Regions from separate parts of the Homo sapiens genome. Here region 1 is linked to region 2. Evidence: promoter capture Hi-C in human tissues and cell types (Jung and others, 2019). All regions are on one chromosome and are shown on one strand. Each heading gives the region's core, a stretch centred on a gene start or on the middle of the fragment in contact. The rest is flanking DNA. Distances are from core to core; before and after follow the strand shown.

Region 1 (5,057 bases), core at 1,969-4,468, 1.7 Mb before region 2:
ACACCTGTAATCCCAGCACTCTGGGAGGCTGAGGTGGGCAGATTGCTTGAGTCCAGGAGTTCGAGACCAGCCTGTGCAACTTAGAGAAACCCCATTTCTACTAAAAATACAAAAATTAGCCGGGCGTAGTGGTGCACACCTGTAATCCCAGCTACTTGGGAGGGTGAGGTGGGAGAATCGTCTGAGCCCCGGGGATCAAGGCTGCAGTGAGCCACAATTGTGCCACTGCACTCCAGCCTGGGCCTGACTCAAAAAAAAAAAAAAAAAAAAAAAAGAAGAAGAAGAAAAGAAAATGAGGTGCAAGTCATATGAAAATCTAGGGGGAGAGGGGTACCAGAAGAAACCCCAAGTATAAAAGCCTGAGTCCCTGAGGCAGAGGGGGCTTGGCTGTGTGAGACCCACATGGGAAGCAGCCTGGCTGGAGAACAATTAGCAAGGCTGGGAAGGAGAAACAGAAACCAGGAGCCAGCAGACATCAGAGAACAAGGAGGCTGTGCAGCTCAAAGAGCTCTGGCTTTGCTTGGGTTGAGACAAGGAGCCCCTGGATGGCTTTAAGCAGCTGACACCTTGATCTGCCTTAGGTTGGGGAAGGTCACTCTGGCTTCCGGGTGGGGAAGAAGCTTATTGAGGAGACGGGGGATAGAAGTGGTGGCCAATTACAGGCTAATAGTCTAGGGTGGTAGTTGTGGATTTAGATGTGGTGGTGGCTCACGTCTGTAATCCCAGCATTTTGGGAGGCCAAGGCAGGAGGATCACTTGAGGCCAGGAGTTCAAGACCAGCCTGGGCAACACAGTGAGACCCTGTCTCTAAAAAACAGTTTTCAATGTAATTTTGAGGTTGAGCTGACAGGACTTGCTAAAGGATCAGATGTAGGGAGTGAGCGAAAGAGAGGAGTCAGGGACAATGCCAAAGAGAGGAGTTTGGTTGAAGACATTCAGTTTGCAAAGCCTATTTGGCATCCAGGGAGTGATGGAGAGTAGGCAGGAGGGTGAGTGGGCAGCTGCTGGGAGCTGCAGATGCACTTGTCAGAGCTGGGAGTGTGGAAGTGGCTATGAGACTAGATGGGGTCACCAAAGAGCGGATGCAGAAAGACAAGAGAGGCCTGAGGATGGTTAACATGGAGCACTCGGCATCTGGAGGTCAGGCAGGTTAGGAGAAGTGAAAAAGAGCAGCAGAGAAGGTTTTCAGGGTGATGTCGATATAGAAGACCTAAGAAAGCCAAGTCAAGAAATTGTTTCCTAAAAATGGTGTCAAATGGCCAGGCGCAATGGCTCAAGCCTGTAATCCCAGCACTTTGGGAGGCCAAGGTGGGCAGATCACTTGAGGTCAAGGGTTTGAAACCAGCCTGGCTAACATGGTGGAACCCCGTCTCTACTAAAAATATAAAAAATTAGCCAGGCAAATTGGGCATGGTGGCACGCACCTGTAGTCCCAGCTACTGAGGAAGCTGAGGCATGAGAATAGCTTGAACCCAGGAGGCGGAGGTTGCAGTGAGCTGAGATCACGCCACTGCACTCCAGCCTGGGCAACAGACTGAGTTCCTGTCTCAAAAAAAAAAGTTGTCAAGTGCTGCTGAAAGTAAGATAACAATTGAGAATTAGTCAATGCATTTGGCCATGTGGAGATCTTTGGTAACCTTGACAAGAGCAGTTTTGGAGGAATGGTGGAAGGAAGGCCTCATTGAGAAGATTCAAGAGAGAAAGAAGGAGAAAGTCATTACAGCCTTAATGTTGAGAAGTACCCAGCCGACTTGGTGTGCATTCTAGTTACATCACCTGCCAGCTATGACATGGAAGGTAAACTGTTTAATATCTTTAACCTTCAGTGTTACAAACTAATTCTAAGACACCCTTAAACTTTTTTTTTTTTTTTTTTTGAGATAGAGTCTCACTCTGTTGCCCAGGCTGGAGTGCAGTGGCATGATCTTGGCTCACTGCAACCTCCACCTCGCGGGTTCAAATGATTCTCCCACCTCAGTCTCCCACATAGCTGGGATTACAGGTGAGCACCACCATGACTGGCTGGCTAATCTTTGTATTTTTAGTAGAGATGGGGTTTTCCCATGTTGGCCAGGCTGGTCTCGAACTCCTGACCTCAGGTGATCCACCTGCCTAGGCCTCCCAAAGTGCCGGGATTATAGGCGTGAGCCACCGGACTGGGCACATTTTTTTTTTAAAGTAATAGGATAGCATCTAATAATCAATGCTTAAACAATAACAACCTTGTCAGTCACCAGACAGGAGAAATTGGGATGTCAGTGCCAGCACATGTGCAGATTCAGGCAAATCTCTAAGTTTAGATCACACAATTTTCAAAGCTAGGAAAGGTTGGTGATTGTCATGCACTGTGAAGTATTTCTTAGTCAAAAGACAGATATCCAATTAAGAAGGGGAAAGCCACAAGTTTAATAAAACAGGAGATGTGGAAGGAGCCTCTGTTCTTCGCTGAGCTCTAAATTATACCATCCATCCTAAAGGGGCTAAAGAAATCCCAGGTGGGACATGGAGAACTGCATGGGCACAGCTGAAAGGGAGCCAGAAACTTTCTGACTCTGTTTTTTAATTTTAATTTTATTATATATATATTTTTTACAATTAGCAGTTGTGCATGGAGACTCTGTGACTCTGAATATCTAGGCTTCGATTCAAACTTGCGTTATCATCCTGAAGAATAAAGAGGTTATGTTATGAATATGTTCTATATTTTGTTAGGAAAAGCATGACACAACAAAACTTCGTTGTGTAAGTTTAATATGTTTTGATGTGAAAAGCTTTTATTGAATTGATGGCTTTGTATACTCGAGGAAATACAGTGAAGCAGCCTACCTCATAGGATCGTTATGAGAAATTTAAGAAATACCACCATAAGATAACAGCTCTGGAACATTTACTCAATACTTAGTACATAGTGGGCACTCAATAAATGCTAGGCAGTGTTATCGGTATCTGTTACTTATATTGTGACCATTGTCCTTGCCAACATCCATCATCCCTATGGATCTGGGGAGCCTCAATGTCCAAACTCACTTTCCAGAGCTAATCCTTTCCTTCTAAATGCAACCTTTCTGCCTCCCATTCCTGCGAGGTGTGACTTAGGAGCACAGGGTGGCTCTGCTGATATAAACTTGACACTGACAAAATGTGTTTTCATCCCCCTAGGTCATCCATCCCTAGCTTAGCTAACACCTCTAGTTCCTATGGGGCGAAAATACTACTCTGGTCCACATGCAGGGGTGTCATTTTGGGCCAAAAGACCCTCCCGTGCTCTGCGCAATATGCTCAGCTCCTCCTTTTTTTGCCATGCAATACACATTGCCGAGCAGCTGTACCTGCAGGGCTGTACAGACCAGACCATCAGCTGTGGCATCGGCAGGAGTTTGATTTGAAAATCAATCTCTCTGAGGTTTCTTCATTTACAAACTGAAAATATTAATATTAAATAGGAACATTAGGGAGCCGAAACAAACAGAAGGAAAATACAAGGCCTGGCATGTAGTAGGCGATCTACAGATGTGTGCACGATATGTGTTGCCTTCAAGCCTATGACACCGCTGGAGGCTATTGACAGTATCAGTGCATCGGTGCTAAATGAATCTGTTTATGGTTCTCATCCATCTCCTCTCACCTCCATCTCCTCTCACCTGGGCCTTGAAGGAGCCTCCCAATGTCTTTCCCCAGTCTGTTCATCAGACACATCTGAAGCGTCCAGGTCATAGCACTTCCTAATGGGAACCCTTCCAGTCTTCCCACTGTGTTAGAGTACAATGCGGACTCCTCACCTTGTCCCGCCATGTCCCAGGGACAGACACACTCATCTCTTTCCTGGTGGGTGAACATACGAAGTCTTGACCCATCCAGGAGACTCTGCACTTGCTGCTGCTTCCCCTGCCTGGAATTCTCCTCCTTGGGCTCTTCACATACATCAGCCTTTCTCATTTTCTAGTTCTCAACTTGAGTCTCATGTCTGCAAGGTGGCTTTCTCCAGTTAATCTTGAAACCCTTGCATCCCTCCCCGATTACTTTCTACCAACCTGTTTATTCCCTGTGTAAGGCTTGCTCTCACCTGTACTAATCTTATTATTTTTTATTTATTTTTAAATTTTAGAAACAGAGTCTCATTCTGTCATCCAAGCTGGACTGCAGTAGGTAACAGTGATCACAGCTCACTGCAGCCTCCAGCTGCTGGGCTCAAGTGATCTTCCCACCTTAGCCCCAGAGTAGATGGGATGACGGCACATACCATTACTCCTGGCTAATTAAATAATTCTTTTGTAGAGACAGGGGTCTCGCTGTGTTGCCCATGCTGGTCTTAAACTCCTGACCTCAAGCTATCCTCCCACCTTGGCCTCCCAAAGCACTGGGATTACAGGTGTGAGCCACCACACCCAGTCATATCTTATTTTATTGATGATTGATTGACTGATTGATTTTTAATTGAGACAGAGTCTCACTCTGTCACCCAGGCTGGAGTGCAGTGGCATAATCTCAGCTCACTGCAAATTTAGGGTTTATTGTGTGTATCTCTACCAGAATCTGAGAGTAAAGGTTTTTGTATCTAGAGCTCCTAGAACAAAAAAAGGGAGGCTAAGGCACAGACTCACAAGGTGGGATGCCGTGGCCCTGGCCACTCAGTGACCAGTGACAGAGGTGGGATTCGAACCCAGGCCCAAATGCCACAATCTCCATGCTAAAATCGCACGCTGCAATTGGGGACTGTAGGTGAGGCCCAGAGATGTTAGGGTTTCTGTCCCAGATAGCAAAATGAGCTTCCTGGGTTAGGGAAGAGGAAGCCTAGAGGAGGAATCAAAAGCAGACTTCTCTAGCCGAGCTTCATTTCCCTTTTGGGCCAATGCCAACAAGATTGTAGGCACTCAGAAGCTGTGTCATTCACCTGGGCAGCAGCCCTGTGCTGCATCCTAGAGGGTCAAGAGGTAGAAGATGGACAATGCCAGGAGCCCAGGAGAGGGGTGACTGAAGAATGGCCACCTCCAGTCCTCCTGAGAGCATTCCTATCCCTTAGCCCCGATACCCAGCTGGCCACTCCCCAGGTCTTGACA
Region 2 (5,306 bases), core at 1,364-3,863:
TGCTTTTAGTTGGAGGGACTGATAATGAAAGAGTAATAATATGTAGTTTTGGACAGTGATCAATGCTGTGATAGTGATAGGCACAGGGGACAACTTTCAAGAGGGTGGTGAGAAAAGGCTCTCTGAGAGGTGACAAGTGAGCTGAAAAGTCCATGAGGAGAGTGAGCCAGCCATTTCACGATCTGAAGGGAAACCAATCCAGGCAGAAGTTACTGCAAGTGCAAAGGCCCTGAGGCAGGAGATCCTGGCTTTGCAGAACTGCAAGGCCAGAATGACCACAGAGCATTGAGCCAGAGGGGGCATGGTAGAGTGAGGTCAGCTCATACGACCTCTTGAGCCACAGCAAAGATTCGAATTCTAAATGCAACATGAGGCCACTTAAGGATTTTAAGTAGGAGTGTAAATTATCTGAATTATGATTTTAAAGGAATGTTCTGGCCAGGCGCAGTGGCTCACACCTGTAATCCCAGCACTTTGGGAGGCAGAGGCGAGTGGATAACCTGAGGTCAGCAGTTCCAGACCAGCTTGGCCAACGTGGTGAAACCCTGTCTCTACTAAAAATCCAAAAATTAGCCAGGTATGGTGGTGGGCGCATGTAATCTCAGCTACTTGGGAGGCTAAGGCAAGAGAATCGCTTGAACCAGGGAGGCGGAGGTTGCAGTGAGCAGAGATGGCGCCATTGCACTCCAGCCTCGGCAACAGAGCAAGACTCTGTCTCAAAAAATAACAAATAAATAAAATAATGTTCTGCAGCGTCCAGCTATATGGAAAATGGGTTATCAAGGGGCAAGACAGGAAGCAGGGAAACTAATTAGGAATCTATTACCAGAGCACAGGAGAAAGGTAATGGTGGCTTGGACCAAGGTGTTAACAGTGGAGATGGATGGAGAAGTGGTCATATTGGGTATATATTAGATATAGATTGAACAGGACTTGCAGGTGACTTGCATGTTGGGGACTGATAAGACTTGAAGAACCAACTCCTGAGTGTTTATTAGGAGCAACTGGATGAATGGTGGTACCATTTACTGAGGAAGGGAAGACACAGGGAGAAACACGGGGAGGTTGGGGTGCGGGGGTGGGGGAAGGGAGGGTGGACAGAAATTTGGGCCTGGCCCACTGTGAAACTGTTACCTCTATTCAGTCCAGTAGGGAATCCAAAGAATTTCCATTGCAATTGTGACTCTGAGAATATTTCATTGCCCGATGCCAGGTTCAGAAAGCCACTGACCCCATCACCCCGCCTCTTTATACGCTCGGAGCTAATGATTGGACGCTGGGAGGTTTTGGGGAAAAACAAAAACCCAACATCTGAAAAGGTCTATGCTCGCTAGAAGTTAACAGTCAAAAGCTCTGCCACTTAAATCTTCTGCCTCTTAAATCTTCTCTGAGTCAGCCTAATTGGCAGAGCCTAATTTGCATACAGAACCCTAGCTGCAAGGAAGTTTGGGTAATGTAGTTTCCAGGTGCCCTACCTCTGCAAACCAGGAAGACCTACTAGGAGGACGGAAGTCGAAATGAATGCTGAGCACCGGTCCACTACATCCACCAAGGGTGTGTAATTCACTACCACCATCATTTGCATATGATGGTAGTCCCCTGTAAATACAAACTTCAAACAATCAGTGCTCTCAGAATCCAGCTATGATCTAACCTGGGGGCCTTAAAAGGAAGCCACAGTGGAATCCAATGGAAAACAGGAACCGGCATTATCTAACAGATAATTCCTAGTGAGGAAGACTGGAATTGGCCTCAGCATGCAGGGGCTGACCTTATCTGACCCAGAGAGATGGCTTTCCCACTCATACCTCCACAAGACCGAGCCTAGGGGTCCTAACCACCAGCCCCGCTGCCTCTTCCAGCATCTGACCCTCTCGGGAGGCAGTCTAGAGTATTGGCAACGAGGACAATGTCTTTGGGAAGCCAGAACTGTGCCTTCGTATGTTTTGATCATCACCACCATTCGGTGGTTATTTCCATGAATGTTTATCAAGGACGAAAGGACAGAAATGAAAAACACGAGATCAACCACTGGGGTTGCTGGTGAAATCCAGACCAGAGAGCGATGGCCCTGGTCCAGAAAGCTAGACAGACACAAGCACAGAATCGGCCCCCGTTGAGTAGAGGGCATTGGAAAGTAAGGAATCTCGCAGGCAGCCTAGGTGGGGTGTGGGGGGTCCCCGTAGCTGCAGGGTGGGGTGGGGGTGGGGGTGGGAGACGTCCAGGGGCGAGTCAAGGGGGAAGACGGTTGGGAAGAGAGGAAGCCACTGGGTGCAGGGGTCCCGGGGCGGCGACAGACCTCGGCCCCCATCCAGGAGCCCTCACCACGCAAACGAGCAGAAGGCAGCGCCAACTCCCACTCCAGCGCCCGCCTGCCGGAGCGAGCGCGGCCCCTTTAAAAACCATGTAAACAAAGCTTTGTTCCCCCAGCTGCCCCTCCTTCGCGCTCCCCCGGCCCGCTCCTTCCTCCCACCCGGCGTCTCCGGGCCGCTGACGTTGCCCGCGCCTTTACGCCGTCCCAGCGGTGCTGCGCATTCTCCAACCACGGCCCGGGCCGCCGGGGCCTGCGCAGCTGAGCGGCGCTACGCCACGAGCGCAGCGCGACGAGTCCCCAGCGCGCAGGCGCAGCGGCGACGGCGTCGGCGGCGGCGGCGGCAGCGGCTCCGGCCGAGGTGCGCGCTGGGGGGGAGGGGGGGCCGGAGAGGAGCATGAATGGAGCAAAATGGCGGATCATGTGCAGGTGAGAGGAGCCGCGGGGGGGAGGGGGCGACCACGAAGAGCGGCGAGTGGAGTCGGGGGTGCACACGGCCCACAGGGCGCCAGCCGGCTCGGGACTCGGCAGGCCCGCGCCGCCGCCACTCGGGGCTCTGGAGCCGCCGCCCGTCCCGGAGCCCCGGGGCCTTTCCCGCCTCCCGGGCCGGGGGCCTTCTCCGTCCCCTCCCACCCGGTCCCACACCTCGCGCGCGGGGCTGCAGGGACAGGAACGGGCATCCCGGCGCGCGCAGCCCACAACGTTCGTCAGTCACTGTCTTCGTCCCCGGGGGAGGCCTCCGTCAAGTCCTCGGGCCCCCCCGCCCGCCCCCCGGTGAAGCGAGGGGGACCCCCTTGCTGACTTTACTGAGGGGGACGCCCCCATGACGCCCGCCATCCCTCAGCAGATAACAAAAAGGAAACCTCGCGCTGATAAACCTCGCTCTCCGGAGTCTTTCCCGCCGCCTTCCTCTCACGCCCCGGAATACGAGAGACCCCCCAGCAACCCCGGCCTCCTTCCCCCTCCCACGGATGCGCCCTTCCCTCCGACACTCCAAATCGTACAGCCCGGAGGGCCGAGCTCCCCGGTCTTCCAAAATGGGTGCTCAGGCCTCGGCCCGCCTCCCCTCGCGTCCCCCTAGCCACAGTGAAGGAGTTGAGCGCCCACACCTCCTATGAAACACGGGGTGGAGGGGGGTGTGTCTGAAATGAGAGATGCAGGGTTGGGTGCAGACGTTGCTCGGGAGGGTCTTGATCCGGCTCAAGAGCTGCTCCTAGCGTGCTGTGGGGCCAGGCCACTCTCCTCAAAGACAGGCACAGGCCCTAGAAAGGGACAGCCCATACCAAACCCAGTAGCAGATGGAGGACTGCAGGGTTTAATTTCTTGCAAACTAGATAAAGTTTTTCCTGTCTGTGCCAGAGATCTGATATTTTTATGACAGTTATTGATGCACATCCATTGTGGGGAACCTTCCAATTTTCTAGGTAACCAAGTGCACAGGTTTTGTGTTGTGGCAAGGAAAGATTAGAGGGCAAGAAGTGTCGCCTTTATATTCTGTGGCATCATTCCTCAAGTAAGAAGAATGATCTCATTCTTAATACGTCTACAAGAATCTGGAGTGGTGTGACTTCTGCCCCTTTCTTTGGAGAGAAGGGACTAAATAAAAGACTTAATTTTCAGGCCAGAGATCAGTAAAGTAGATCTTCGGAGTGTGCGGGACAAGTTGTCAGGACAGAATTATAGCAAGAAACGTAATCACAGGTGGAAAACCACGGGATTTGTGTTTCAAAGCCAGTACCTTGGCTTAATTCAGAAGTGACAGTAAAAGTTGATACAAGGAGATGATAATAATGATAATAATAATAGTATAGCACCTTGCGTTTTATAGCAGTCATTTCTAAGAAGCATGAAATATTTTATGTGATTTTTAAAAATTCTTGGATCTTACAAGACTCAGGCAGGAATTACTTCTGTCATTTAAAGGAACAAAAACCAAAGCACAAGAATGATAATGAGATTTGGTTAAGGTAAGTCTAAGTGTCCCAAAGTCTTTGGAGTTTGGGTCCAGTGCGCTTCCTTACTGGGGGTTGGGGGGATGTCTATGAGCATTCTAGAACAGGCTTTGAATAGATAGCCTTTGTGAACCATGCTTCGGAATGCAGAGGGAGTCAGTACTTTTATGAATATACATCGTGCTATTTGCTGTTTCCCGTAAAGAAATATCTCTTAATGTGATCTCCCACATTTTCGAAGCATAAAGGTTGTCATTCCTGTGAAAGTCAGGATGCATCAAAGCAATCTTCACAGCATTTGTCGCTCCAACGAAGGTCTGTCTTATTTTTAGTAAGATGTTGTTCTCCCACTCACCACTCAAAAATCTACGGAAGTAAGAATTTATTAACTTTTCAAAACAAAGGGGAGCATGTTGATCAGTGTTTTATTGGTACCCTTTATTTACTTTTAAGAGCTGCAATCTGTTGGTCTAAATTAGTGCTTAGTGGTCTTCATATCAACGGGGTAAGTTTGTGAGTGAATTTTTTTCCCTTTAGAGAGAATGGGACATACTGCTTTTCTTTGTCAGACCACTAAGTGTTAATAGTATTGGGCACTCACAGATGTTAAGGTGGTACTTTATTGTGGCAGAAAACCTTCTTATGAAAAAGATACACGCTTCCCTAGGTATAATGAGTAAATAAAGGATTCATTAAAGACAGTCTGCAATGCATTGAGGGGAGGGTGGCGGGGATATTTTTCTTATAACACTAATCAAACGTGAAGTTTATAAAGGTGTCTGCTACAGATTCATGACTGATTATTGGAGAGTTGCATTTGTTGAACTAAATAGTCGAGTCATTATGTTATCTAGTGCTTTTCTGAACCACCAGGGTGAGCAGTTTTTTCATAATTGAGGCTGAGTGTCATATGATTCTCGGGTTCTCTCAGGCTGATGTCTTGGATATCTCTCTTCTAAGGATATGTATTTTATGGACGATTTTAAGTGCTATAAAACTTTAGTAATGGGAAAATTATAATATTTGGATTGCCCTTTAGCTCT

What was found. The method cuts DNA at HindIII sites, captures the fragments that hold promoters and counts their contacts. A contact is called where the count stands out against the background at its distance.
Region 1: a contact is called between a fragment that was not itself captured here and the fragment with the promoter of XPO7 in region 2, in 1 of the 25 tissues and cell types used here (dorsolateral prefrontal cortex).

What each region holds. Positions count from the first base shown.
Region 1 is chr8:20,255,811-20,260,867 of GRCh38, forward strand. The region is part of intron 1 of LZTS1 (leucine zipper tumor suppressor 1); the gene reads right to left. Among named protein-coding and RNA genes, the nearest start is that of LZTS1-AS1, 17 kb to the right of the region's middle. The HindIII fragment of the contact is 3,047 bases long and covers 1,696-4,742 here.
Region 2 is chr8:21,917,049-21,922,354 of GRCh38, forward strand. It overlaps XPO7 (exportin 7), which reads left to right and starts at 2,614. Exons shown (of 28, transcript NM_015024.5): 1 at 2,614-2,740. The coding sequence starts at 2,723. RefSeq lists a silencer at 2,531-2,970. The HindIII fragment of the contact is 7,284 bases long and covers 185-5,306 here.